Linked DNA regions of Homo sapiens: region 2 is linked to region 1. Evidence: promoter capture Hi-C in human tissues and cell types (Jung and others, 2019). All regions are on one chromosome and are shown on one strand. Each heading gives the region's core, a stretch centred on a gene start or on the middle of the fragment in contact. The rest is flanking DNA. Distances are from core to core; before and after follow the strand shown. Region 1 holds the start of SPAG7 (sperm associated antigen 7). Region 2 holds the start of PELP1 (proline, glutamate and leucine rich protein 1).

Region 1 (5,238 bases), core at 1,139-3,638:
GTGAGTCAGTTACTTCTTCCCCTGGGCTCCAAGCTCCTTTGGCTGAGACACCCAGCAGCATAGACAGAGAACTAACGTATCATAACTTCTTTTTTTTTTGTCTCCTTCAGCATAGTATGAGCTCCTGGAGGGCAGGGACCCTGTTGATCTACTGTTCAGTTATCCTCTGGAGCCCCAGGGCCTGACAGCTTATGAGCTCTCATCCCTCTGTCCTCACTGACCATCAGCGCATTTCATCTTTTGTTGTTGGAAACAGTCTCAACTTCATCGCCCAAAATGGAGTGCAGTGGCGCAATCACCTCTCACTGCAGCTTCAACCTCCCAGACTCAAGCGATTCTCCCACCTCAGCCTCCCGAGAATTGGGACCATAGGAGCGCGCCACCAAGCCCAGCTAATGTTTATTTATTTATTTATTTATTTATCTATTTATTTATTTATTTATGAGACGGAGTCTCGCTCTGTCGCCAGGCTGGAGTACAGTGGCGCAATCTCGGCTCACTGCAACCTCCTCCTCCTGGGTTCAACTGATTCTCCTGCCCCAGCCTCCTGAGTAGCTGGGACTACAGGCACGCGCCACCACGCCCAGCTAATTTTCGTATTTTTAGTAGAGACGGGGTTTCACCATGTTGGCCAGGATGCTCTCGATCTCTTGATCTCGTGATCTGCCCGCCTTGGCCTCCCAAAGTTTTGGGATTACAGGCGTGAGCCCGGCCAATTTTTGTATTTTTTGTAGAGATGGGGTTTCTCCATGTTGCCCAGACTGGTCTTGAACTCCTGGGCTCAAGCGATCCGTCCGCCGCGGCCTCCCAAAGTGGTGGTATTAAAGGTGTGAGCTACAAGGCCGGGCCCCACTGACTGTTCTTTAACTGGTTTTCGAGTCTTCTCTGCATCTAGAGAAGTGGCACAAGATTATGGTCAAGAACATAGGCTTCGAGCCCAGTCATACCTGGGTTTGAAACCCTGCCACTTACCAAACTAACCATGTGACCTCAGGCGAGTGACTCATTTAAGCTTCCCAGTCTGTCAATGCCGGGTGATCCCCCACTTAGACAGTCATCGGAGCATTAGAGAATTCCAGTTCCCCATTCCCATCATGCTTCCTCCTTTCTCAGAGATTTCAAATAGACTCTTCTGCCTGTAACGCTTTGCTTCTCTCTCTCATTTACGGAATTACCTGTTCTGATCTCGGCTCACTGCAGATTGGGGGAGAACCTCAGGTGGCCGCTCTCACAGTTATTTTTCTCTCAGAGCACTTATCAAGTTGGTTATTAAACTTACGTGTGATCACTGCATCAATGAGCGCCCCAGCCCCGGACTGTGGCCTCCCTGAGGGGTACCCCTGGTCCCTAACGGTTGTTCAAGAAACAAGGGGACGAAGCGTAGGCAACCAGCGGCCCTTGAATACTTGGAAGGCGTCCTGCCTGCTCTGGTCCCCCTGGGGCACGTGGGGAGCTGGGACAGGGCTCGTCCGTGGTCAAGGTCCGCAGGTTTGGGAGTTGGGGTCCTGCGTTCCGCCAGTATCATCCCAAGCTGCAACACGAGCAGCCCCGGGGAGGCTCCCACCGCCCTGCAGGGCCGCGCCCTACGCCGGCCGCCGAACTCCAGCCCACCCGCAGGGAAGCTACTCCGAGAACGCAGGCGGAGACAGTGGCCAATCGGACCCGGCGGGTATTCTCATCCCTCCAATCAACACTACGATCCGCCCGGGCAGCTCGGGAATTTAAGGCTACGGATGGGAAAAAGGTTGTCGGAGGGAGGCAGAAGGGACTGGGTTAAATTAAGCAGGAGGGGCAAGAACACACAGAGGACCCTGCAACCAATGGGAATTCGCAGGCTGGGGTGGTTTCGAAGGAAGGTCGAACAGGCCTGAGGAGGCAGAGCTTTAAGTTGAGATAGCCAATAGAGATGAAGGCACAGTAGATGGCGTGTCCTAAATCCAATCGAAATAGAGCTAGAGGTGAGCGGGGCAGGAATGCGGCAGGTTGGAGGCACCCTACCAATCAGACCAGGTCAGCAGCGGACAGGCGGGACGGCCGGCTAATGGGAAACAAGGACTGCGGAAGGCCAGGGTCGGGAGAAGAGGCAGGAGGCTGGCGCTATCTTTCAGGTAGCCAATCACTGTCCGCTAAGAACAGCGGGCGTGTCAGCAGCCCTTTTAGGGACTCTGAGGGTCTCGGAAGGGGCCTGTGAGGGGTCTTTCAAGGTTGAGGAGGCGGCATCGTCCAAAGAGGGAGAAGTATGGTCCCGAGAACCGGGCGAAGGAAGGCGGTTGTGAATTTGGGATCCTCACCTCGGGCCTTGCGCCGAGTCTCCTGGTCACCGAGGCTGGGTGGCTTCTCCATGGAGCTCAGGATGGAGCCCAGTAGGTCCGCCATCTTGGGAGTGACTGAGAGGGGGCGGTGCGTCTTAAAGGGAAGGGCGGAATGCCTTTAAGGCCGGAAACACGTCGGAGGCGGAAAACCCTGGGCCCGCCTGGCCTGGGCGCAGATCCCAGGCCCGCGGTGCATGGCGGCCTCCAGCTGGCCTAGGCCCCGCCCCGCCCCCGCAGACAGAGGCCGGAGGCTGGCTGGTGCAGCGATGTTTAATGGCAATTCGTATAAACCAAGCCCATGCACAAGTAGAAAGTGCCCGTGGAGCCGGCAGGAGGCCCCCGCCGCGCTAGAGAACCACAAGCCCGGCCGTGCAGCCCTCCCCGCGGCGCCTTAAATAGATTCTTCACTATACTCTGTATGTTACAGTATGTACAAGACCCCTCCCCTCGGGGGACGGGGCGGACTCCGCAACGCGTTCCTATGTACACCACCTCCCCTTCGGCCCTGAGGTCAGTGGCCAGAGTCGGGTGATGGGGTAAGACAGGGCCAGAGAGGGAGGAAACAGACGCAAACATGCGGAGTCGGGTGGGGACACGGTCAGCCCTGAAACACGAGGGGCGTGCGCAGCGAAGGCAGTGGTGGGAACCGAGGCGGATACATTCAGAGACGCGTCGAACAAATAAATAAGGCAAGTCAGGAGGGGGCCGAGTCGGGTGCAGGCAGGAGGAGCTGGGGAGCAGGGGCAGGCAGGGCTCCGGAGGTCACAGCGGAAGATGCAGGTATGTGGGGCGCGGGTTTTCTGGAGCCAGGACCAAAAGAGACGGGGCACGACCAGGAGGGACGAGGAGAGGGGTGTGGGAGCAAGGCGTGGGGAGGAGGGAGGAGGCCTACAGAGGGCTCCAACAAAGGTGAACAGGAAAGCTGCCGACAGGGGCTCCCCCTGCCCCAGAAAGCCCTCTCCCTGTTAAGACTGCACGAGGCGCCCCCAGGGTGGTGAGAAAGGCGGTGGCCAGGTCATGTGGCCAGTCCCGGCTGGGGAAGCCCTTCCAGCTCCTGGTTCTGCTTCAGTTCCCTCATCCTGCAGAGAGAAAGATAGGAGTCAGAGGAGACTGGCGGATCACGACGGGTGGCAACGCAAAAGCCCAGGGGGAGAAGGGATGAGTACCTGTGTCGGCAGCGCCGCAGGAATCTCATGATCTTCCGGGCTGCCTGGTCCTGCTTCTTGGTGAGAAAGGAGCCTCTGGTGAAAGAAACAAAAGATGGACCTCACAGAAGGCATCGCATGCCTTCGGCCCCCCCAGGAACCCTAGGCAGGGAATGGCAGTGAGGCATGATGATCAAGAGGATGAGTAAGGGGGAATGGCGTGGATGCAGTGGGTGGGCACAGAGGGCTGGGGCTGGGCCCTACTTGTTGCGGGCAGGCAGGGTGGCCGAAGTCCGGTGGGGAGGGCCGGGCCTGCGGCGGTAGGAGCGGTAGTGCTGCTGGATGAGCACAGCCGCTCGGCGGCTCTGCTGAAATCGCTTCTGTTCATAGTAGCTTCGGAACTTGCTCTGGATCAGGATGGCCGCCTGGGTCATCTTCTTATAGAGTGCAAACTGCAGGGGTGGGGAGGAGGGACAGGGGCTGAAATAGAGGGACGGAGACCCAAAGCCCTGAGGCTCACCCAAGTTAGGCTGATGCAAGACTCTCTGTAACCCACACACTCAAGGAAAGACTGAATCATCACAGACCTCACACTCAGAGCTCATGCCTAATACCTTAAGTGCAATCCAGGTCAGCTTGTGGAGAGAGAAGGGGAGTTAGGGCTCTGGCAACATTCTGGAATGGTTAGGCGTGGGTGTGGGTTGGTGGGTTGCTGGTTACACTTTTGAGGGAGAAGGGTCTCACCTGCTTGTACTTCCGGTAACAGCGCTGGATTACAGCTGCTGCTACCTCCTGCTGCTCCTTCAGCCGCCGGCCCTGAAGGGAGAGAAGTCTCACCACCTCATGACCCACATAATGGCATATCTGACTTGTCCCTTCAACTTTCCTGGGGTTCCCCTGACCCTTTACCCCATCCAAGGCCTGTCTGCACGACTACTCATCCTCCAAAAGCCCTGGGAGCCCAGTCTCCCCTGACTGGAGATTGTGTAATTCATCCTGAGACCCCTGCCCCTGACCTTGTACTTTCGGAAGGCCGTCTGGATGACTCGGGCAGCCTCATACAGTTCCCGCTGCTCGTGATCTGATAGTGTCAGCAGGGCAAAATCACTTTCCATCTTGCCACTGGTGGATGCAGAGAGAAACTCTGCCCAGGAGGGTGCTGAAGGGACAGCCAGGCGACCTCGCTCAAAGGGCAGTTCGCTGTAGGCGGTAGGGAAAGAGGGTGTCATGAAGCATCTGAAGTCCCTCCTCTGCCACCTATGGATGGCTACGAAGGAAAACCACCAGCAACTGAGTCTGGAGAGTGACTTCAGAGTTCATCAGCCAGTTCAGTTCGCTTCTCCAAGGCCCTGGGGCCTCAGCCAGAATGGAGCTTTGGCTGTGGGAAAGCCAGCTTTCTCCCTTCCTCCCATCTTCCTTTGAAGAATCTGGAGGCTTTGTCCTGAGCTAGTCACCTGGGAGGGGTTGAGCTGGGGAAATGGTCCACATTCTCCAGGTAGCTGGCCAGCCAGGACATGGTCTCACTGAGCCCCACAGCCCCTGTCCGCTCCCGCATTGAGGCTCCAGCCTCGGGCAGCCCCACGAAGTCCTCTCGTTTAATCCGCTCCGGTGTGGCTTCGATGATCTGCTTGGCTAGTGAGATCATGTCCACCTGGAAGAAGGGAGAAGCTGAGTGAGTCCTTAGGGGCCCCAGCTGCCAGCTGTAACCTCAGTCCATTCCTATCTTGTTCCTTCTCTCCCTGCCAGGTGCTGCTAACCCTGTCTTTCTGGGCCACTGTTCC
Region 2 (5,238 bases), core at 2,011-4,510, 260 kb before region 1:
GCCATAATCTGGCCACTGCACTCCAGCCTGAGTTAGAGTAAGGCCCTATCTCAAAAAAAAAAAAAAGAAAAGAAAAGAAAAGAAAAAGAGAAAGAAAGAAAAAGCAAAGTTCCACTAAAAAAAAAAAAAAAAAAAAAAAGCCAAGCTATGGGAGGAATGAAATAACATTGGCAAACGTTCACTGTTAAATTTGAGTGATGGGGGCAGCATAGGGTGGGGTGGGGAAAATACTATTTATGTCTGAAATTTTATATAAGTTTTATTAATTACATACAAGAACAAATCAAAGACTTGCTGAATGTAGGGGAGAGAGGTTATAAGTATATGTGAAATAAATAAACAGACAGTAGGATAAAGAGCAGTCAATCATAGGTGGCCAAGAAATATATCCCAAAGGCAGTGACAAATAAGCAAAGAATTGAGAAGACTGGGAAGGAGGATGAGAGTTGGGGGGGTGGGGGCACTGCACAGGGAGGGATTCCAAGAGAAGAGTAAGTACAAAGCCTCTGAGGAAAGAACACCCAGAGGCTGAAGGATTTTTAAAAGCTGCAAACAGGATCAGAATTTTACTTTAGAAAGCTCACTCCAGCTACTGTGTGGGGAACGGATTACAGAGGGCAAGACTGAAGGTAAGGAGACCCGTTAGAAGATTGTTGCTATAATATACTCCAAGCTAGATATGGAGCACTGTGCTAGGATCATTCCATTTTGGAACTACTGAGCTTGCAGTACCTGCGGAAAAGCCATGTTGGTAGGTGGATGATCAAACAGTGGATCCCCCTTGCTCGCAAGCTCCAGGTCTATTGCTGACTTTCATTTCTCATCTTAACTAGACTAGAAATTCTCTGAGGGAAAGGACCATGTCTTATTTATCTACCTAGAGACGAGGAACAGTACGTAAAACATAACAGATACTCAATAAATGTTTGTTGAATGAAACCTTTGGGGAAGGAAAGGAAATCCTCCACATAATCCCAATTCAAAGGACACAAGTAGAAAAAAAATTCAAGGCAGGATGTATCTAAACAAGTAGCACAGGAAATATTAAAGGGCGGCCCTAGTTTCCCACATCACTCTTAGCTTCTTTACTCAAAATTCTACTAGACTTCAGACATGTAAGAAAAATAAGCAAGACGTTAAGTTCATGTAGTTGACTTTGAGGGAGGAGAGGAAGTCCTGAAAGAGATGATGAAAGAAATCACACATTTATAGGCGGGATAGGTAATATTTCACAAATACTTATAAAAAAAATTTCTGGGGGGCAAGGCATGGTGGCCCGTGCCTGTAATTCCAGCACTTTGGGAAGCCAAGGCAAGTGAATCGCCTGAACTCGGGACTTTGAGACCAGCCTGGGCAACATGGCAAAACCCCGTCTCTACCAAAAATACAAAAATTAGCCGGGCATGGTGGCGCATGCCTGTGGTCCCAGCTACTCTGGAGGCTGAGGTGGGAGGATCCCTTGAGGCTGGGAAATGGAGGTTGCAGTGAGCCAAGATCATGCCACTGCACTCCAACCTGGGTGACAGAGTAAGACCTTGTCTCAAAAATAATAATAATTCTGGGACTATTGTGAGATAAAGAAAACAGAAAAACCCCACTGTAATATAACTGACTGATGAAAACCACATAAATTAGAAGAGGGGAATTTAGAGACAAGAGAAAATACATAATCAGCTCCAGCCTCTGATATTGGGCTGAGATAGCAGAGATATAGTTTTGTCACCCTCAATTATGCAGAGTAATGTTAAAGACAAACAGATAGGGTTATCTGTGATAAATCTGGGGCTAAGGTTATTGACCCACCCAGCAAATTGTGACAACCATCTTCCTGGAAGGTAGCATAGAGCTAGGAAGGTCCCAGGAATGAAGGGTGGACACAGAAGATCTCGTGTTTATGGGTCTTGAAGGATGGGTAGAATTTGGGGGAGGTTTAGTGGGAGAGAAGGGAAGATAGGAGATTGTTATAAGGAGCAGCTATTATGGGCTAGAAATATGCCTTCTTAGAATCAGTGCCTTCACCCGGACAAGATGGTGGGGGTTCAAGCTAGAATGGGAGCAATGAGAAAGATGGAAAAGAGTGGACAGATCTGAAAACTACTCAAAGGATAAAATCAACAGGACTTGACAGATTGCTTATGGAGGTGTATGAAGAAGAGTTTAGAATTACTTGAGTGTCTAGCTTGCAGAACTGAATGGTTATCAGATTCCATTCTTATAGAAGTCCAAAGGCTCCTAACCCGGCCTAAAACGCTCTGCATGACCCGACCACTGCCTACCCATCTCACCAGTCTCATCTGTACCCACTCTCTTCCCCTCCACATCTGAGCCCCAGGAACGATGCCCTTCTTTCCAGTTCCTTCCTACCACAGGGTCTTCCCACATGAGCTCTCCTCTGACTGAACAGCCCCTCCCATATTTTTTCCCTACCCAACCCCTATTCATCCTTAGGGTCTCAGCTTAAACGCCGGTTTCTTTGGAAAAATCTCTGCCAGTCTTCAGATAAGGTTAGAGACCCCTGATATTCAATTCTCATCTTGTTTCGCAGCATTTTGTGTATCGCCACCACGTCTGTAACCGGAGCGCCTAGTACAGTATCTGACCCTCAATAAGAGCTCGGTAAATGTTTATTGTTGAATGCGTCATTCAGTCAGTCGAAACAATCCCCGAAACAGATATTGCCAGAGGAAAAAGAGACTTTTAGATTATACAACTAGTGAGTGACCGGGCCTGGAACCTAATCGATTCCTGTGTGCCGACCAATAGCCTAACAACAGAAAAATAAGGCCCATTTTTCCCCTGGAGAAACTCATGGCCGATAAAGGAGAAATACGTGCATCCCGTCCGGACTGATACCTGGATCCCCTTTCTGCCCGCAGCTCTCCTTCCTTCAACCTCCCTATCGCACTTGCACTGCACCGTAATCCCGGCGCACAGGTGCCGCGCCATCCTCCCCACAGGGCCGCGGGCACGCGGGCCACGGACTCACCTGGGCCCCGCCCACCGACCCATGCAGCCGCAATAGGCACATGAGCCCGGGCAAATGTGGGGCCGAGCGGTTTGGGGGATGCACCGGAGCAACGGCAGACCCCGTTCGAGGTTGCAGCAAACCAGAAACACTCTCCAGCAGCAGCAGGCGGAGCCGCGGGCCCGAGCTCACTGCCGAGAGACCCCCGGTCCCGCCAGGAACCCCAGCCGCGGAGCCCGCAGAGGGCCCACTCAGAACGGCTGCCGCCATCTTCCCCCGGGTTCCAGTGGTGGCGTGGCGCGATGACGCAAACACACCGCGACGGCCGCCTACTGGGGAGGGGGCGTGGGGAGGGGGCTGCGGTCTTGCGCACTGAGTGAAGGCAGGCTGGACTCGCGGGCTCAAGCTGGGAAGGAGCATGCGCGGAGAGAGCAGCCTGGGCGCCGAGGCAGCGGGGTGCTCGGTTCCCGGAGTGATGGCGGATGAGGCTGCCTGTGAGCGTGTCCGAGGCGGTCCTGTGATGTTAAAGGTACACGTGGTCCGGACAAAAGGCGCCAAAGTCGGAACGATTTCCATTTAGCGGACGGAGTCTTGGGACATCTTCGCTGTAGGAATCAATAACTCTCATTTTTTTTTTTTGAGACGGAGTCTCGCTCTGTGGCCCAGGCTGGAGTGCAGTGGCGCGATCTCGGCTCACCGCAACCTCCACCTTCCAGGTTCAAGCGATTTCCCTGCCTCAGCCTCCCGAGTAGATGGGATTACAGTCGCGCGCCACCACGCCCGGCTAATTTTTTTTGTATTTTTGTAGAGATGGGGTTTCACCATGTTGGCCAGGATGGTCTTGAACTCCTGACCTCAGGTGTTCCGCCCGCCTTGGCCTCCCAAAGTGCTGAGATTACAGGCATGAGCCACCGCACCCTGCCTAGGAATCAGTAACGTGTGTGTGTGTGTACGCGCGCCAAAGATTTATTTCTTCATTTCTTGCATTTCAAGTACTCTTCGATGTCATCCTTGGCCTGAGACTCCTTGCCATAGTCCTTAACTACTACACAACTGCAACCAACCACTTTACGGGGTTTCCCCTCTCTGTCGATTTTTACAGAGCCCTACCCATTCTCCTAGTTTCTTGTTGTCATCAACCTTAATTAGGTTGATTTGGTGTTCAGCACAAAGGCCTCCACCAACTTGACATACATAGTAGGCTCATCATAGTTGGATGCAAGCACACAAAGATGGGCTTGGCGTTTGTCTAAGGCTTTGGCAGCTTCGCGAATTCCACGTGCTAGGTCATGGTGGATGAGAGCGGTCTTCAGCACCTCTTGTGAAGCAGTATTAACATCCATTACCCCTCCAGCAGCAATGCCTTCCTCGGCCGTGGCGGTGGGTTACAAGTGAAGCTGAATCTTGAAGGTACCCAAGCCTCCGCCTCCGCGCAACTCGGCAGCGGCAGGGAAAGAGAAGGAATCAATAACTCTCTAGGTAACTTGAAATCACAGACATTTTTAACTACATTTGCAACTTCAGAAATGATACAAGACGTGCGCCTTGCAAAAGCCAATTCAAACAGTACAGAAAGGCATAAAGTAAAAAGAAAAACTGCTCCTCCCCCGCAAAGCCCTGCCCCAGTAGCGTGTATACTTTCCTAATATTAGTCTATGCACAAGCACATAAATGAATATTTTACAAGATTGGGGTCTGCGTGTGGCTTGTTTTCACTCATGGCCTTCTTTATGCTGTTTTTTAAACTGTGGTATGAATGAAATGGGTGCACCATGATTTAATAATTCTATTGCTGAATTAATGCTTAAAGGCTGCTCCAGCTTTTTGCTAATGCAAACTGTAGTGAACACGCTAATACCTCTATGTTTATGTTTGTGTACTTTTGTGATTGTTAGATTCAAATCCAAGAGTCATCATTTTTCTTTTTTTGAGGAGTCTCTCTGTCGCCCAGGCTAGAGTGCAATGGCACGATCTCGGCTCACTGCAACCTCCGCCTCCCAAGTTCAAGTGATTCTCCTACCTCAGCCTCCCAAGTAGCTGGAAGTACAGGCACCCACCACCATGCCCAGCTAATTTTTGTATTTTTAGTAGAGACGGGGCTTCACCATGTTGGCCAGGCTGGTCTCAAACTCCTGACCTCAAGTGATCTGCCGGCCTCAGCCTCCCAAAGTCCTGGGATTACAGGTGTGAGCCACCCCACCTGGCCCGTTTTTCCTCTTATTGCCTCCTATCCAATCCTTCAAGTCCTGGCATTCAAGGCCTCCAAAATACAT

The links. Contacts are between HindIII fragments. The study calls those that stand out against the background at their distance.
Region 2: a contact is called between the fragment with the promoter of PELP1 here and the fragment with the promoter of SPAG7 in region 1, in 2 of the 25 tissues and cell types used here (dorsolateral prefrontal cortex and liver).

The regions. Positions count from the first base shown.
Region 1 is chr17:4,965,429-4,970,666 of GRCh38, forward strand. SPAG7 (sperm associated antigen 7) reads right to left here and starts at 2,389. Exons shown (of 7, transcript NM_004890.3): 1 at 2,292-2,389. The coding sequence starts at 2,376. It overlaps CAMTA2 (calmodulin binding transcription activator 2), which reads right to left. Exons shown (of 23, transcript NM_015099.4): 17 at 4,912-5,108; 18 at 4,474-4,657; 19 at 4,202-4,273; 20 at 4,072-4,092; 21 at 3,722-3,909; 22 at 3,479-3,553; 23 at 2,569-3,391. The coding sequence ends at 3,328. LOC124900387 (a long non-coding RNA gene) reads right to left here and starts at 2,285. Exons shown (of 2, transcript XR_007065587.1): 1 at 973-2,285; 2 at 394-891. MIR6864 (microRNA 6864) reads right to left here and starts at 4,343; the gene lies at 4,274-4,343. It also overlaps MIR6865. RefSeq lists enhancers at 1,434-2,111, 2,025-2,524, 2,112-2,788, 2,789-3,466, 3,434-4,633 and 2 more and a silencer at 2,535-2,614. The HindIII fragment of the contact is 4,607 bases long and covers 1-4,409 here.
Region 2 is chr17:4,700,877-4,706,114 of GRCh38, forward strand. PELP1 (proline, glutamate and leucine rich protein 1) reads right to left here and starts at 3,261. Exons shown (of 17, transcript NM_014389.3): 1 at 2,987-3,261. The coding sequence starts at 3,235. It overlaps PELP1-DT (PELP1 divergent transcript), which reads left to right and starts at 3,354. Exons shown (of 2, transcript NR_103482.1): 1 at 3,354-3,494; 2 at 4,323-4,653. It also overlaps the pseudogene RPS12P29. The HindIII fragment of the contact is 43,472 bases long and covers 1-5,238 here.